5 separate regions of the Homo sapiens genome follow, and regions 2, 3, 4 and 5 are each linked to region 1. Evidence: promoter capture Hi-C in 16 types of primary human blood cells and fetal thymus (Javierre and others, 2016). All regions are on one chromosome and are shown on one strand. The core of a region is centred on a gene start or on the middle of the fragment in contact, and the rest is flanking DNA. Distances in the headings are between cores, read along the strand shown. Region 1 holds the start of DEPDC1B (DEP domain containing 1B). Region 2 overlaps LINC03122 (long intergenic non-protein coding RNA 3122). Region 3 overlaps PDE4D (phosphodiesterase 4D). Region 4 overlaps ZSWIM6 (zinc finger SWIM-type containing 6). Region 5 holds the start of ZSWIM6 (zinc finger SWIM-type containing 6).

The links. Contacts are between HindIII fragments. The CHiCAGO score rates a contact against its expected background, and 5 or more counts as called.
Region 2: a fragment that was not itself captured here is called in contact with the fragment with the promoter of DEPDC1B in region 1 in 1 of 17 cell types (total CD8 T cells); the score reaches 5.5 in total CD8 T cells.
Region 3: a contact is called between a fragment that was not itself captured here and the fragment with the promoter of DEPDC1B in region 1, in 1 of 17 cell types (monocytes). The highest score is 6.0, in monocytes.
Region 4: a fragment that was not itself captured here is called in contact with the fragment with the promoter of DEPDC1B in region 1 in 1 of 17 cell types (total CD8 T cells); the score reaches 6.1 in total CD8 T cells.
Region 5: the fragment with the promoter of ZSWIM6 here is called in contact with the fragment with the promoter of DEPDC1B in region 1 in 1 of 17 cell types (total CD8 T cells); the score reaches 6.3 in total CD8 T cells.

What each region holds. Positions count from the first base shown.
Region 1 is chr5:60,698,447-60,701,906 of GRCh38, forward strand. DEPDC1B (DEP domain containing 1B) reads right to left here and starts at 1,720. Exons shown (of 11, transcript NM_018369.3): 1 at 1,600-1,720. The coding sequence starts at 1,647. LOC124900982 (a long non-coding RNA gene) reads left to right here and starts at 1,794. Exons shown (of 2, transcript XR_007058779.1): 1 at 1,794-1,895; 2 at 3,208-3,460. The HindIII fragment of the contact is 2,062 bases long and covers 984-3,045 here.
Region 2 is chr5:61,654,203-61,657,662 of GRCh38, forward strand. The region is part of intron 1 of LINC03122 (long intergenic non-protein coding RNA 3122); the gene reads left to right. Among named protein-coding and RNA genes, the nearest start is that of LINC03122, 18 kb to the left of the region's middle. The HindIII fragment of the contact is 4,377 bases long and covers 1-3,460 here.
Region 3 is chr5:59,815,396-59,818,855 of GRCh38, forward strand. The region is part of intron 1 of PDE4D (phosphodiesterase 4D); the gene reads right to left. Among named protein-coding and RNA genes, the nearest start is that of PDE4D, 77 kb to the right of the region's middle. The HindIII fragment of the contact is 1,120 bases long and covers 1,345-2,464 here.
Region 4 is chr5:61,408,832-61,412,291 of GRCh38, forward strand. The region is part of intron 1 of ZSWIM6 (zinc finger SWIM-type containing 6); the gene reads left to right. Among named protein-coding and RNA genes, the nearest start is that of ZSWIM6, 78 kb to the left of the region's middle. RefSeq lists an enhancer at 1-379 and a silencer at 1-195. The HindIII fragment of the contact is 1,363 bases long and covers 1,220-2,582 here.
Region 5 is chr5:61,330,433-61,333,892 of GRCh38, forward strand. ZSWIM6 (zinc finger SWIM-type containing 6) reads left to right here and starts at 1,826. Exons shown (of 14, transcript NM_020928.2): 1 at 1,826-2,516. The coding sequence starts at 1,841. LOC105378994 (a long non-coding RNA gene) reads right to left here and starts at 1,784. Exons shown (of 2, transcript XR_007058781.1): 1 at 1,708-1,784. RefSeq lists an enhancer at 1-486 and silencers at 291-870, 901-970, 1,181-1,580, 1,691-1,830, 2,611-2,720 and 1 more. The HindIII fragment of the contact is 10,173 bases long and covers 1-3,460 here.

The DNA of each region.
Region 1 (3,460 bases), core at 470-2,969:
TTAGAGATATCTGGCCCAGGTAACAGCCAGGACCAAGTCAAGCAGCCATCTTCCATCATCCAGTAATAGCCAAGTCACATTATTTGTGGCACATGAGTGACCTCCACAAAAGAACCATTGACATGAGTCTAGCCCAGATTACTGATCCAAAGGATGAGCAAATAAAATGCTTGTCTTTATGCCAAATAAAACAATGTCACAGACTCTCCCAATCTCCTTATTATTTTTTTTTTTTTTTGAGATGGAGTTTCGCTCGTTGCCCAGGCTGGAGTGCAATGGCGCGATCTCAGCTCACTGCAACCTCTGCCTCCCAGGTTCAAGAGATTCTCCTGCCTCAGCCTCCTGAGTAGCTGAGACTATAGGCGCATGCCACCATGCCCAGCTAATTTTTGTATTTTTAGTACAGACGGGGTTTTGCTGTGTTGGCCAGGCTGGTCTCGAACTCCTGACCTCAAGCGATCCATCCCCTTAAATCATGTAAAATTTCATGAGTATGTGCCATGTGCAGTTTTCTGTGAAGAAGATCCTTAATCTTCATCAGATTCTCAAAGCGATCTATGAGCCAAATTTAAAAAGTAAAGACCCATCAGCCCCAACTATGATTTCTCTTCCAGAAGCTGGCCTTCTCAGCTCTGGCTTGACTTACTGGTATAGTGTGTGGCTGGCTTTGGAAAGAAAAGGAAACTCTATTTACATTATCTGTATCCCAGCATCCTCACCTCTTCCATGAGTCTAGCTGAGTAAGAGTTTGGATGTTAGTTCCCATCTTTTCCTGTGTATTCATTATAATGCATGGAACTATGAGAGTAATTCCCATGTTAAATGTGGCCAGAGAGGTCGGCAGACCAAGGAGCAAGTTACTGTCCTCCCAAATTACCATTACACTTCCACAGAAAGTCCTCTAAAAACTTGCCACAGACATTACCAAACTGTCACCCTTTATTGTTCCAAGTCAAAGCAGACCAAGTACACCTCAATACCAAAGCTTTTCTCCCAGAAAAAAAAAAAAAAAAAAACAGGAACTCAGAGTCGGCAAAGACTCTCCTAAAACATCTGTCCTGGCCAGCTCTTCATCTGGATCGGTGCTGACAGAAACAGAAACGCCAGGGGCCGGAAATGCGGCCAGCGCGATGCCCCTCTGTTCTGGGCACCGTTTATTCGAATACCCCGTCAGGTATCATCAGGTGTCACTCAGGAAGGAGACACGCCCTGCCTGGACTGCCGCGAACGCTGAGCGTTACGGGGTACGTGGTGGCCCCTCAGGTTACCGACCGGGTCGGTTAGATTCCAGAGGACAAAAGGCAGGGAACAGCCTGGTCTTGGGGTCTTTAAACAGAGAGGCGCCATCTACTGCCGAGAACCCAGTCAACATCTCATGGACAAAGCTGCACTAACCCCCGGCCGGCTGAGCTCTGGGCCCCGTTAGCCTTTCTTTGAGGCTCGTCCACTAAAAGGCAGCCCCAGTAGTCCCAGCTGAAATGCTCCACACCCGAGCCCCGCTGGCCTGCGGAAGCGAAGACTGACAAGCACTCTGTCCGCGCGCTGAGTGGGGGCTCGCGGCACCGGGTGCTCCGCCCAGGCCCCAGCACACTCACTCACCAGCCTGGTAGCTCGGTACGGCCCGGGCCCCACGATGCGATGCTCCATGGCGCGTAGGCAGCAGCGGCCGCAGCCGCGCCAGCGCTGATCCCCGCCAGCCGGAGGAGCAGCAGTTTGAATCCCAAGCCCGCGGGCTGCGGGCGCTGATTGGGCGGCGCGGCAGCACGTCACCGGAAATGCGCGGGGAGGCAGGCGTCTTCTCCGAGACCCGCGGCGCTGGGAGCTCCGCGTGCGAACTTGCCCGGGGCGAAATCTGTTGCCCACCCTGGTCCCACCGTGCGAGCACACCTAGGCAGGTGCGACTAAGGGGCCGGGGGCGTCTCCCCAGCGCTGGAAAACGCTGTGCAGCGCCCTTCCCAGATTTCTGCGTCCGCGCAACACAAACACACGCAACGCTATCTCTACAAAAGGGTCAATAATAGGTGTTATCCAGCGACCGAAACCCAGCTTTGGGCCGCGTGGATAAATACCTGTCCTCCCTACCAAGTGCACTGTGAGCCTGGAGGTGCTGCTAACGCTGGGAGAAGCGGTAGTGAAATGAAGCGAGGCGACAGCTTTTACCAGTGTAGGGACATTTAAAAACGGGATAGAGAGCACAAGGAGCGTAGACAGTGTGTTAAGGGCAATAAAGAGCGGGAAGGGAGCCCCGATTCCTCTTCTGTTTGTTCTCATGATAGTCTTTTCCCCTTTAATTTGAGTTCTATGTTTTGTATTGGGCTGATACTTTTAGTCCTCGGCAATAGGGTTGTGAGTCCTTTTTTGACTGCTTAGAATTTTCCCCCTGGGAATTGCTAGTCCGATTTGCAATCTTTCAGAGGGACAAATGAAGTAACTCCATATACTTAGGACTCTGTACACCTACTCAAATTTGGTCATCTCGGTAAGTACCCAGGACAAGACGTTGAAGGAGTGAAGGTGTGCCATTCCAAAATATGCCTAATTGGTATATTGATTATTTCGAGCGGAAAACATTGGAGAAATGGTAGTTTCAGAAAGGGCAAGCTGACCTGCCTCTTCGATGCAGCAGGCCACAAAGATTTCTCTGGGATGGGCATCCTCTCCCTACCACGGTGAGAAAATAGCCTTTATCACCAAAGGCTTGGAATTGAAGGCTGCAGTGGACCTGAATAAACATTCTTAACGAAGTAACCCTATCTTCCACTAGGAGATATAGGAGATTTTTTACATATATCTTCTAGTGACTCCCTAGAAAATGTTACTGCCTTTGTGAGCTGTGGAAGTTAACTCGAGTCACAGGGCACCAAAATATGTTAGCAGCTGCCCATATCCGAGACACGGCCCCAAAGTATGTTACAGGCAGTGAATTCCTACAGATCTGCAGCAACCTCAATTCTTGACTCCTCAGAAGAAAGAGTTCGACTGAGGGGCATAAGGCAAAAGGAGAGACCAAGGCAAGTATTAGAACAGAAGTGAAGTTTATTAAAAAGCTTTGAATGAAAGGAAGTACACTTGGAAGAGGGCCAAGCCAGTGACTTGAGAGATCTAGTGCGTAGTTTGACCTTTTGACCTGGGGTTTTATACGTTGGCATACTTCTGGGGTCTTGCTTTTGGGGCTTTGCATTACTTCTCTCCTGATTCTTCCCTTAGAGTGAGCTGTCCACAGGCGCATACTTGAGCCCACTTGCCCAACTCCTAAGATCTTATCGGGAAGCTGCTGATCAACAGTTCAAGTGTTTTCTATTAGGAGACTGCCTTTCCCTGGTGCCGGCTGTGACCAACTATTATTTTAGAGAGACAATTAACAACCACCTGACCATCACCTGATGGCTGCCTGACATTCCTGATGTGTGTGTGTATGAGGGGGAGCCCTCTCCTGCCCTGCTCATGCCTGACTAGCTAC
Region 2 (3,460 bases), core at 591-3,090, 960 kb after region 1:
CCCAAGCCTCTGTGGTCTCCCGCTCTAATTTACCACTCTTGCTACTTTTCTGTCTGAGCAATTCACCAGGCTCGGTCTTATTTACTTGCAACTCTTGGGCTGAATACTGCAGCTTTCCTCCTTGAACCAGTGCCTGACACACAGTTAGTGCACAACAGATATGAGAACCCAGGTTCTATCATGGCTGCATGAGCAGGAGAGGCCAGGTCAGGAAGGGTTTTTGTATGACTCATTGGCCTGTTGTACCTTTTTTTTTTTTTTTAAGACAGAGTCTTGCTCTGTCACCCAGGTTGGAGTGCGGTGGTGCGATTTTGGCTCACTGCAACCTCCGCCTCCTGGGTTCAAGCAATTCTCTTGTCTCAGCCTCCTGAGTAGCTAGGACTCCAGGCGCCCGCCACCATGCCTGGCTAAGTTTTGTATTTTTAGTAGAGATGGGGTTTCACCATTTTGGTCAGGCTGGTCTTGAACTCCTGACCTCAGATGATCCACCTGCCTCGGTCTCCCAAAGTGGTGGGATTACAGGCGTGAGCCACCATGCCTGGGCTGGCCTGTTGTATCTTATGCTCATCGCAGCCTTCCCCCTGCCCTGGTCCTCAGGCATCCCTGCAGGCTTTTGCTCAGCTAGCTGCTGAGTCATGTGGTCTGTGAAGACTGGAGAGCTGCAGGAGAAAAGAAGCCCTGAGAGTCCTCACCTTCTCTTTCTGCTTTGGCAGCATCACCAGCTGTGGCTGGGTCTTTTTTCTGGACTCCAGCTCCTGTCGAGAGACCCCTGTTATGATTTTGGCTCCCCCGGACAGCCCTGGCTCCTGGGCTTTGGTGACATCACCTCTTTCCTTTGACCCTCAGGCCTCATTCCTGGCTTGCTGCTGGTGCTGATCTTTGGATTGCCTTACCATTGCCCTTGTCATTTCACCTCTTTCTCCACCTTTGCAACAACTCCCCTGTATTAAATTTCCCCTTCAGCTCTTTTGTTAATGGGGCCCTGGCAGATTTAGCCTGAAATGCTGCTCTGAGGAGTCTGGGTTTCATGCTTTCTGGTAGTTGATTTGACATCAGGAGAGGCTTTTGAGAAGGACGTGATATGATCAAATGGAGCAAATGGGTGTTTGATATTGGGGGTTTCATGGATGCCCTAGAAAATTTGTAAATAGCCTTTAAGTGTCTATGAGCATGCCACAGTTGTCTGAAATTTTATGCATATGTGCAGAAGTGACTTTTTTGTGTGTGTGGGAAGAGATCCTATAGCTTTCATCAGATTCTCTGTGGGATTTTAGAATATCCTAAGAACTACTGGACTAGAAGTAGGATCAGTTAGCAATGCAAATCACTCAATGCATCAGAGTCCCAGCAGGAAACAGAACTCACTGGAGATGGTTCTGCTGGAGACTTTAAAGAAGGGGCTACTTCAGAAGTGTGGGCAGAGGTAGGTGGACAAACAAGAGATGGGAGGCACCCCAAGTTTAGCACCAGTGGGGAGCTGGTATCCCCAAGGATGAAGGGCCAAGGGGAGGAAACTGAGGGACTGGGGCCCATGATAGTTGGAGCCCTGGAGGAAGAGCCTCTCGGTGGAAGCAGGAGTGCTGGAGGGACACAGTCTTCTTCTGAGATGGGGAGTCCAAGCAGGGGACAAGGACACAGTGTAGCTTCTCTCTTCCCACTTGACTGGCCATTAGTGCCTCCCCTCGTCTCTAATACAGTTGGAAGCCAGCAGCCAAGGGTGTTTGGGTGATGTGGTCTGTGGGGTCAAAGTGGGGGAGAGAATGCAGTAAATGGGTAGATTCGGACAGAGCAGGGTAGACGGAGAAAAACCAACATTCACAGAAAATACGTTACTTAGGACTTCCAGCATTGTGCAAGAAGGAAATTGACAGAAGTCATGTTTGGTAGTTGCCGGCATCATTCCTCACGTTCTGACTTCTGGATTCTGCTTTTCATCAGTCCCTTCTGCACTAACTTGCCCAGCCTAGTAAAGTCATATAAAGAGAAGCAAAATTCAGAGGATTCTTTTGTTGTTGTTGTTAACCTTTTCCTTCCACTGCTACTTACAAGCTCTCTGACGTTGGAAGTCACAAAAATGTCTCTGAGCCTCATTCATCAAGTATGGAAGAGGTTGGGTTTGATGTTTTGCATTGTGCCTTCTGGCTTGAAGGTTTTATGATGCTTTAAGAGGGTCTTTGGCTTCCTCCTTATGAAAGGCATGTAGTGCTCTGGCCCCTTCTAAAGGGGTGAGCCGCCTTCCCTTGCCCGTTGTCGCCTGCAATGGTTTGAAGGCTGGAAGAGAGCACAACAGCAGTACCCCAGTCCTCCAAGGAACAGACCGCAGCAGGTTATTAGCATTTTATCGACTTTGGCTCTGCTGTTGATTGTCAGGATCTGTAGTGAAATACTTTAATATACATTTGAGTCTAAGTGTTACCCAGGCCGAAGGAGCACTAATTTTGAAGATATGTTTGCATTATAGCCTGTGTTCTAGAGAGACCCAATATAAAGAAACACACCCAGCAACTCTGCTTACTCGGCTGGTGGAGGGAATTGAGGATTGTTGCTGAAGGGAACTCACTTTTGTATGCATTTCAGAGATTTAATTTTATTAGCCAATGCAAATGATCTGTTCCACAAATGTAAAACAAAAGGACAAGAAAATGATCCCTGTGTCAACATCAGGATGTCTGACTTAAAATCCCATTCGAATAACTCCCTAAAAATGATCAGACACTGAATACATTATTTTTCTGACTTTGACAAAACTAGTCTGCACAAAGAAGCAGCCCCATGAGGTTACGGATAAACCAACCACCTTAAAACTTCAGCATTTTCATGTCAGTCACAGATTTTCTTAAGGGCCAACTCACTGTTTAAGGACTAATGTGTTTGGAGAGGGAAAAAAACCACACTGTGTTATTAAGCAGAATCCCCTTTACATACAGGGATCGGATCAGTTTGCCCGGATTGTGTTGCCTGCTTTATTGTCCTACTTCAAACACGGGGCCCTGGGCATCATCTCGAGGAAGGGCTGATTGAACTGTCGGCCTGACACTTGTCAGCTGTGGATAATACGGGCTTCAGTCCGTCATGCTCACACATAAATGAACCATGACAGAGATAGACTGTTGAATAGAAAAAGCAGTTTTACTGTGGATAACCTTTCTTGAATAAATGCAACAAATAATAAAGTCTGAAAAGGGGGAACATGTACCTTAGGAAAGCAGTGACGTTCAGAACCAAACGGTTATTATCTTTTTGGGCCATCAAAAATTGCCCATTTATCCAAGTACATTATTGAGAGAAAAGCTAAAAGTGCTATGATTATCATAAAAATGATGGCAGTTGAATCTATGCAGTCTTCAATATTATATCACATAACAAAACCTAGTTACAGCTCACCAGGATTGAAAAAGGAGGCATTGTTTGTGTACCAAATGGAATCCACAATTGTTCTTAGAAAATGGTGGCACACATC
Region 3 (3,460 bases), core at 655-3,154, 880 kb before region 1:
ACAGGTACGGTGTGGAGGGTAGGTGGGTAGGCTCCAGAGCTAGTCTGCTGGGTTCCGAGTTGGCTGTCTTACTTCCTAGCTCTGAGACCTCTGCAAGTTACTTAACTTCGCTCTTCCTCAGTGTTTTTAGTTCTCAAGTGGGCATAGTAATGAAATGGGGTGGTTGTAGGGATTGAGTTAATACATATAAAAGAGTTAGAACAAATCCAGCTGAGACTAGTGCCATGCAATTGTTAGCTAGTGTTCCTGGTACAACTATCAGACCAGGGGCCAGGAGAATGCTACAGACCTGGCTGAAACTGAATTTCAACAAAGCATTTCACAAATGCATACAAAATACAGCCAAGGACCTGCTGGAAAAGTGGTCTGAGGAACACAAATACATAGATTCATATTTGGTTTTACAACTAGAAATTCATTTCAGCCTAAGGAGACTTCTTTAATTTCAAGCCTTGTGATTATCCTCAGCCCTGTCCTGATCGACATTTTTCATCAAGAAGACCTGAAATTATTTTATTGTAAAAATTGTGAATATTGTGAAGTATTCCAAGCATACAAAAATAACTTTCGGGATTTAGAACTGACAACAATGTGGAAAAGCCATACATATCTAAAGCACGAGTGAATTCTTTCTTACTGAACCTATTCAAATAAAGACTGAAAGACCTGGCAGTGAAGGGTTGGAAGTGTCACATGAGGCATATATTGAGATGAACTTTGAAAATTCTATTCACACATGAAGATGTTTATGAAGTATTTTATATATGTTAGGCATTGTCTTAGGTACTTGGAATGTATGTAAACAAAATAAACACCTGTCTTGTTGGACTTACATTCAGGTGGACTCCTTAATAACCTGTAAGTTATAGGAATTACTAGATTTTGGTTTAATTCTGAAGTTTGTCACTCACTATATATAAACCTGATAAGCTCCCTCGTTTTTTTCTCATCTGGAAAATGGCGATAAAATGCCATCCTTTCATATTTAGGATCATTCATTCGCTCAACAAGTACTTCCTACTTTGTGCTATGCTCTTGGGAAAAAAAATGAATGAGAGAAGGATCCTGCCCTCATGGTACTTGTATCTTATATTATCCAGAAGATAAAATAAGGCACTTACCAAAAATACTAACATTTACATATCAATGAAAGGCTATGCCTATTATATCTAATGATAGCAGCATGGCCTGTGAGTCTTTGGTCGTCTTTTTGGGGATATACAATGTATATTTTGGCTGTTACCTAAGCCATTCTCCAATATTACACCCCTCACTACCGCTATGTACACAGATAGTCTGCTCCACACTCAGAAAGGTAGGGACAACACCCTAGGATTTCCATAAAGCTTAGAAGGATTTCCTTCCTAAGAAATACCCAGTTTTGCTGCCAAACACTCCTCCCCTCCTACATGAAGGCCTGAGTCAAGAGATATCGTGGGTGGGAGAAGTTACCCTGCATGTCACCAGAACCTCAGCATGCACACTTTAAAATGAATTTCCAAATGCAAATTTGTTCCTAGATCCACAGCATGGCAAGTGAGATGCAGAAGCCTGGTTCCTGGAGGAGGAGCCAGCATTGATTCGTGGAGGGCAGTGTCCTCTCACAGGGGTAAGTGAGCAGGGGTAAATCATCGTTCCCATGAACTCCTCTCCATCTGCTCTCCCCACTCTGGGAACACTAGTGTGCTGCTCCACCTCCTTCTGCCCCCTCCTGGGATGGGCTCCAGAGGATGATAGGCAGGGCACCTAAATTCCCAGCTGACGGAAACGTGAATGTGCTCAGTAGCTAAAGGTGGCTCAGGAAGTTTGGAAGATTAGATGAGATGGTTCTCCCTCTCCCTCATTTAGATCACACACATTTTCCAACATGTAGGGGAGAAGAGGGAGCTCTGTATTTTTTATTTATCCAACAAATATGTATTGAACATCTACCATGTGTGGGACAGTGTCTTAGGTATTAGGAATACAACAAAGAAGAACCTCAAATCCTTACTGGTATTTAGATTACTAATACCGGGAGGAGTGGGAAAGACACATAGTAAACACATTAATGACCTATTAAATATATGCTGGGTCACCACTATGGACTGTATTGCGTCCCTCACCCCAATTCATATGTTGAAGTGTTGATATGTTCCCATCAATTCATATATTCCTATCAGCTCATATGTTCATATGTTGAACTCTCAATGTCACTATATCTGAAGATAGGGCTTTTAGTCAGTAAATAAGTTTAAATGTGGTCATAAGGGTAGGGTCCTAATCTGACCTTATAAGAAGAGGCAAAGAGCTTTCTCTTTCTCCCTACACAGGCATGCAGGCACGCGCGCGCGCGCACACACCCACACCCCCCCCCACACACACACAGAAAGGCCATGTGAGGACATAGTGAAAAGGTGTCTGTGTCTGCAGGCCAAGAAGAGACCCATAACCAGCACTGAACCAAGCTGGCACACTGATCTCAAGCTTCCAGCCTCCAGAACTGTGAGAAAATAAATGATTGTTATTTAAGCCACCCCATCTGGTGTTTTGCTTTGTAGCCTTGCTAACACTGTCAGGTAGCCCTAAGTGTGCTGAAGAAAACCCAAGTGGAATAAAGGGGTGGAGAGAGATCAAGAGAGGTGGTTAGGGAGACACTCTGAGGAGGGACATTGAGCAGAGAGCCCAGTGAAGCTCACATGTATCCAAAGGCAAGCCCTGGCCTGGAGTTTAAGAATGGCAACACTCAGGCATGGCAGGGTTTGTCCTTAGAAGCAAATGGGATTGCTGTTTTATCAGCATGTTTTTGAAAAATAGACTGTTCTCTTGCAGAGAGGAAATGTATAATTGGTGATCGCCTAGCTGTGTGAGCTTGGGCACGTTCCTTAAATCTCATGTCCCAGTTTGCTCAGTTGTGAAATGGGATAATAATCATCTTTACCTTGTTAGGTTGTTGGGAGGTTTAAATGAGTTAATATATGTAAAGTGCATGGACCCATGCCTGAAACACAGTCAGTGCTCAATAAATAGTAGCTATTATTATTGCTATCAATACAACTACTATCTCTATTATTACAACAACTGCTACTACTATTACTATTGGAAAGCCACAGGCAGAACATTATAAAAGAAATTTCAGCAATGGCATCTTTCAATTAAATCTTTTCTGAGCATCTTGGGCCTCACTACCTCTGGGAAAATAACTTTGCTTCTTTGTCTCCCTCAGCTCCTCAGAAGAGCCAAACCAATGATTAAGCTCACGTGTTGTGAACTGCAAAGTCATTTGAACAATTTCAAAGCCATCAGTGACAAAGGCTTTCTCCTGATGGATCTTTCTGCCCATTGAACTAGAACACTCATGGAAACATGTTCAGGCTCCCTCACTCCATGTAGGTCAGACTACAGGTAAAATATCCTTTCTGGTGCCAAAAACTCTTATCAGGATGAAGAATTTTCCTCTAGTTTCCCTGGGGAAGAGCAA
Region 4 (3,460 bases), core at 651-3,150, 710 kb after region 1:
GGTCGCCAGCTGACGTCAGCGCCGCCGGTTCAGCCGCAGGCCAGAGTCAGAGACTGACAGCGCGAGGGGCGGGGTTGGGAGTCAGGATGGGGCGAGGCCTGCGTGTGACTGATGGCGCGGGGGCGGGGCGGCGTGTGTGTGACTGACCCGACCGCGCAGAGGCGGGGTGGCACAAGATTTGCGTTTCCTTGATGACTTCTAAATTATGATTATAGATTTTCTTTGTAATGAGGGGAAAGGTTTTTTTTTTTTTTTTTTTTTTTCCCGTTTTTGAAATCCAGGCCTCTGTATTGCTTCACTTTAGGTATTAAGTATAAGCACAAAATTAAATGTAACACATACCAAATTGTCCAACTTCAAAGGCCATTTTGTTTTTGTTTTTGTTTCTGAGAACGAGGGGGCCACAGTAAAAACTTTGGTGATTTTTACCAGTGGAGGGGCTAGGGAGGTGATTTTTGCTGTTTAAGGAGGTTCTCAAATTTACTTACCTGCAGTCCATTTTCATTTCAGAATTGCTACCAGAAAGAAATTGTAAAAGTTTTCAAGCATGATTTTGTAAAGCAAAAGATCAAAAAAGGAGAGAAATTATGTGGAAAATTGGCAAGATTAATTATATCTCTATTAAGACCACCTTTGCGCAAGATAGTTTTGGGTTATTACTGCTGATTTTCAGCCTTTAAAGAAAAATGTGGGTTCTTGGTAGCAACTTACAAGGATGGTGTTTAGAGCTATAGTTCCCCCTTCTCCACCATACCCTGTTTTCTTGATGGTTAATTTTACTTTTAAAAACATTTGTATTTCTTGACTATTTATTAATTAGATCATTTTGCTTAGTCATACCTAAGAGTTTTGTTAGTCTTCGGTTTCTTAGTTGTATGAGTCAGAGTCAGGAATGCAAATTTATTAGCTTTTTGTGGAGAGGGATATGTGGGATGGTGAGAGCTGCGGGTGGGTAAGCATGGAGTGCAATACCAGTTCATAGACAAGGATCTAAAAGGAGCCATTAAGCTCCATGGAAAACATTGTTACTTGATCAGGCCAGTAAAGGAAGACTATTTTGAGTAGCTACTGAAGTTATCTGATAGTTAATTTAATTGATTTGAGTAACTCTTTCAGGGACCCCAGATTTGTAAAAGTGGCACTGTTGTGACTTTTGATAAAGGGAGTTTTAGCCTTTCATGAGAGGAAGCCTTGGACTTATTTGTCCTTCATGTTGAGAAGCTTCCGTATGATCTTCATGGTTTCCTTAGGCACAATCACTGTGATTTCACCTATGTATAGCAGCCCAACTAAGGTGAAGTCAGCATATAGACCAGGAAGATACAAAACTACGAAAACTCAGGACCAGCCTTGGCAAAAGGCAACATGTGTAGCCCTAAATTACCCCGGTACTCTAGTGCTCAGCCCCACATTGACAATTGCACAGAATTTAAGTGTTCTGAGTTTGTGAATAGTATTGTAATAATGGATGTATTTCCTTTTTTTTTTTTTTTTTTTCAGACGGAGTCTCACTCTGTTGCCAGGCTGGAGTGCAGTGGTGCGATCTCGGCTCACTGCAACCTCTGACTCCCTGGTTCAGGCGATTCTCCTGCCTCAGCCTCCCGAGTAGCTGGGATTACAGGCACGTGCCACCATGCCTGGCTAATTTTTGTATTTTTAGTAGAGATGGGGTTTCACCATGTTGGCCAGGATGGTCTCGATCTCCTGACCTCGTGATCCACCCACCTTGGCCTCCCAGAGTGCTGGGATTACAGGCATGAGCCACCGTGCCCGGCGATTTATTTCCTTTTTAAACCATCTGACTAGATTCTAAAGACTGGTGTTTTTCACTTAGATACCTTTTTGTTGATAGTACACTTCATGCAGAATAATTTTAAGAGTACAGAGTTGTAAACTACTGTTACATTGAACTCAAATATTAAGGTCATTTCATTTAATACATAGAATAGCCAACAGGAATATTTGACAGATTGAACATTGAATTAAGAATGAGGTATGAAGTGTGCTTAGTTTGCTAAGTCACCAGTTATACGACTTTGTCCACTTTTAATCTCATCGTGTCTTAGTTTCTCCAGGGGAAAATGCTTTTTATTAGTTTTCCTATAACAGGACTCAAGGCAAAAAACGCTTTTATGAAGACGTAAGAATATTCTGGTTAATAATACACTATGGTTTGGCATGCTTGGAAAGGGCAGCAGAAGAAATGGCAACCTGGTGTGGATGCTGACTGGTCTCTCCATCTCTCTGCTTGTCTGAAGCACTGCAGCAAAGTCGCTGGGAGGTCCTGTGCTCTAGGAGTGGAGCCTTGAGTGATTTGAGTGTGTATTTAGAATGAGGTTTCCTTTCTTTGTTTTTGCCAAATTAGTTATCAGTTCTTCTAAAATACAGTCCTCTCAAAATATGGAGTGAATGTTTGTGTCTTGTTGGATGAGTCTGTATTTGGACTTAAGTGTGACTCAATTGTTTTTTAAACTTTAATGACAACTAAGGTGAGCACATTTTGAGTTACAAAGGATGGGAATACAGTAAAAATTGCTTCCCTGAAGTCTTGATATTAGTGAAGAAACAACCCCCTAATTGGAAGCTTTTGGACAAAGCTAGAATATAGTTTTGCTTCCTGAATACTCTAAAATGTTTCAGGAAATTTCAACCTTGTCTTTAATAAGAACACTTTAAAATTACTTTTGTCTAGTTAACACATGTTTTGAAATATATTGTCTTCAATGTGTTAATCCACTCAGGCTCCTATAACAAAAATACCTTTAACCAGTAGCTTATAAACCATACAAATTTATTTGTCCCAGTTCTGGAGGCTAAGAAGTCCAAGATCAAGGTGCCATCAGATTGGGTGTCTGATGAGGCCCCTTTTCCTGGTTCCTGGATGGCACCTTCTTGCTGTGTCTTCATGTGGTAGAAGGAAAGGATGAAAGGTCTCTCTTGGGCCTCTTTTTAAGGGCCCTAATCCCATTCATGAGGGCTCTACATCCGTGACCTACTTAACCTTGTAAAGGCGGCACATCACCTTGGAGGTGAGGATTTCAACATATGAATTGGGGTTGGGGATAAGTATGCAGACCATAGCATGCATTTTCATTTTCATTCATATATTGAGATTTTAGGAAATTAATCAAAGACATTATAGCTGCTAATACCGATCAAATAACCAATGTAACCACAATAAATTGATTTAATTTCAGCCCACAAGAAATGAAAAATTGATCTTTGTTATGTTAGCCTTGTAACTTTACTTCTGGTAAATCTACAGTTTCTATTAGATGGTTTGAAACTTTGGACAAAGCACGTGATACCTTATTGCTTCCAATGAATCACAGGGAATTGAGATTGGGACCCTATACTGAGATCTCATGATAAAAAGAGAAAAACTTCACAGGAGAAAGTTGAACTGCTTTTTATGCAGGAATAGAACTTCTGGGTTGGTCAGAGTTGCAACTACCATAAT
Region 5 (3,460 bases), core at 576-3,075, 630 kb after region 1:
GTGAAGGCCCACTGTGTAGCTCGAGGTTTCCAGGGCCTCGGCCCCGAATGGGCGATTTTCTTTAAAACGCCGAAGCGCGCTATCCCTTTAAATCCAGGCTGCAAGGCAGGCGGGTGGGGAGCAGCCAATAACCTTAAAAGATGCGAAAGTGTCAAAGGAGATACAGTTTATCTCCAACAATGGGAGCGGATCAGCACCACTGTTTACAGTAAAAACAGAAGGTGGGGCTGGGAGGAAGCCTGTCTCCGACGCGGTAATTAAGTCTGCGGCTTGGAAGCAGATTTGACCGAGCTCTGTGGAGCGCGAACAATGTCCGCAGGGCTCCAGGTTCAGAGAGGGACTCGCTTCTCCGCCTTCGCCCGCGTCCAGGCACCAGCGAGCTGCACTCTGCACTCGCTCTCCCTGGTCCACCCCTACACTGCCCGGACCCGAGGGGACTGGCCCTGCGGGCGCCGCCAAGGCGACTGAGAGCGCGGCGCGCGTCCCGAGCGCCTGGACTCCGCGCAGCCGGGCGCCGCGCACCCGGGTGCCGGGGTGGGAGCCGGGCCGCAGACCCAAGTGCGCCCGAAGCCGCCGTCCGCCGCCTGGCACGCCGTCTGCCGCCTGCTGGGCGATGTGTGCGCGAGCCCGTGGGGCTTGCGCGCGCCCTGCGGCGTGTGTACTCACAAAGGTGTGTCTGCTAACCCCACAGCCCGGGCTGCGTTCCACCCCGAGCTGGAGAAACCCCGGCCTGGAGCGGGGCCTTGTCCGCGCGGCCGCGGGGGCGACAAGGGCGGCCGGAGCTCCTCGACTTCTAGCGGGCGGGTCGGTTTCCTGGCCCGAGGGGCTGAGGCAGCGAGGGCGGGACGGTGGCAGCCGGCACCGGACGCGGGTCGCGCGGCTGCTGGGCACGTTCCGAGCGCTCTGCGTGTTTTCGGGCACAGCCCTGCAGCCGAGACAGAACGGACGCGGGGCTCGGGGATGGGCGCACTGCAGCCACGCGGGGTTAGCAGAGCGGGCGCGCTCCTTCCACACCAGGTCTGCAAAAGTGAAGTGGAAAGCCGCCGCCGAACGCAGCCATCCTCCCCCTTCCCCGCTGCAGCTTCGGCGGGTGGTGGGGAGAGCTCCCCTGGACCGGCTGGAGGGGAAGCTGGCAGGCGCTCGGGTTTGGCCGCGCCTCCTCCGCCTTCCTCTCCACCCGCGTCCCCCGGGGTCCATGCCGCATTTCTTTGTTTTGAAAGCGCCTCCTCCGCCCAGAGGCTTTTCCCCCGAAGGGCAGGGGGACGGGGGGGGTGGGGCATCGGCCCGTGGGCCCCGCCCTCCATTTAGCTCAGAACCCTCCCCTTCGCTCACCCCCTCTTCTCCCCTTTCCTCCCCCGCTGCGACCCACGAGGCGCATCCTCACTTCTCGGACTTCAAAGAGAAGCTGAGAACTGGAGGGGGAAGTGGGGTAGGCAGGGGGCGCAGAGACCCACCCACCTCAGGCCCGGCCCGGCGGCCCGCCCCCTCCCACGGGAACCCCGCCTGACCCCGCCCTCCCCCGCGTCACAGCAGCCTGACATTCTCACAACCCACCGGGCACCAAAACGGCCCGCCCCCGCCACCCCCGTGTCCGCCAAGCGCTCTATTTATGTTTCAGCCCAGCGATTTGCATAGGCCCCGCCCCCGGCCCTAGGTTCCCCCTATCAGAGCCCCGCCCCAGCTTCTGCGTCACAGCGGAGGCCCCACCTCTTGTGCCCATACAAGGAGCGGCGGGCCCTAGATGGCATCGTGGCGTCGCGACGGCGTGTGCGTGTCGCGCTTCCTAGTGCCGTTTATAGGGTCCCGGCACTTCCGCTGTCGGGTTAGAAGCGGCGCGGTCATGGCGGAGCGCGGACAGCAGCCTCCTCCCGCGAAACGGCTTTGCTGCCGGCCGGGCGGCGGCGGCGGCGGCGGGGGCAGCAGCGGCGGCGGCGGCGGCGCGGGTGGCGGCTACAGCTCTGCCTGTCGGCCAGGCCCGCGGGCGGGTGGCGCGGCGGCGGCGGCGGCGTGCGGGGGCGGCGCGGCGCTGGGGTTGCTGCCGCCGGGCAAGACCCAGAGCCCCGAGTCGCTGCTGGACATCGCGGCGCGCAGGGTGGCGGAGAAGTGGCCGTTCCAGCGCGTGGAGGAGCGCTTTGAGCGCATCCCGGAGCCGGTGCAGCGCCGCATAGTCTATTGGTCCTTCCCCCGCAGCGAGCGGGAGATCTGCATGTACTCGTCCTTCAACACCGGCGGCGGCGCCGCGGGCGGCCCCGGCGACGACAGCGGTGGCGGCGGCGGCGCGGGCGGCGGCGGCGGCGGCGGCTCCTCGTCTTCCCCGGCCGCAACCTCGGCGGCCGCAACCTCGGCCGCCGCCGCCGCTGCCGCCGCCGCCGCCGCCGCCGCCGCCGCCGCGGGGGCCGGGGCCCCGTCGGTGGGGGCTGCCGGGGCGGCGGACGGCGGCGACGAGACGCGGCTGCCTTTCCGCCGGGGCATCGCGCTGTTGGAAAGCGGCTGCGTAGACAACGTCCTGCAAGTCGGTGAGTCACGGGGCAGCCGCGAGCCGTCTGTCCGTCCGTCAGTCCCTGGGTGGGGGGGGGGTGCCCGCCTTTCTCCTGCGGACAGCCCCTAGTTCCGCGCGCGCCCGCACCCCTGCGGGTGTCCTCACTGGCCCGGACGGTCCTCCTGAGCGGAGCGCCCATTTCCTCCCTCCCTTCCCTGCCCCCCGTCGCCCCGGACGGGCCAGCGCGAGTGGGAAATGAATCAGCAGGACGCGCCCCTCCGTGGGCTCCGCGCCCCCGGCCCGCGCTCCCCTACCCGCCCTCCTCCGGGGAGCACATCCTGGAGGGCTGTTCGCCGGTTTCGGGGGTGGATGTGGACAAAGGCGCGGGCGGACGGCCGGCCTCCGGCGAGGGTGTGTGTGGCGGGGCTGTGCGGGGCGGGGGAGGGGGCGCGGGCCGCAGACAATGCCGGCCGCGGCCCGGCCGCTCGGCGCTCCCCCCCTCTCCCACTGCCTGTCGCTCGCTCCTTTTTCTTTCTGGCCCCCGCCCCACGCGATTTGAGGGGAGGGGAATACACTTAAAGCCGCTCGGCCGCCGCTCCTCCCAGGGCTCCGACGGGCGAGCGGCCGCGGCGCTCCCGGGTCGCTGTGGCGTCTGGCCCGGGCGAGCTCCACTGGCCGCCCGGGGTTTAAATGTCGTTTTCTTTGCGCCTCCTCAGTCTCCAAGCGGCGCAGAGGAGAGGTGGCGGCGGACCGGACTCCGTCTCCGGAGGGACATCTCGCCCGTAGGACGCTTACTAATTAAAGGGCGCGAGCCTGAGGAGGAGCTGCTAGCGCTTCCCTTTTCTCTGAAGCTGCCTCCAGACACCCCTGTGCGGGCCGCGGCGCAGCCCTTGTGCCCCGCCGCCCGAGTTTTGTTTGCGCTGTGTGGTCAGGTCGTGGTGCCCCGGGCGAGCCGCGGTCGGCAGTTGCGGATTTGCCGCT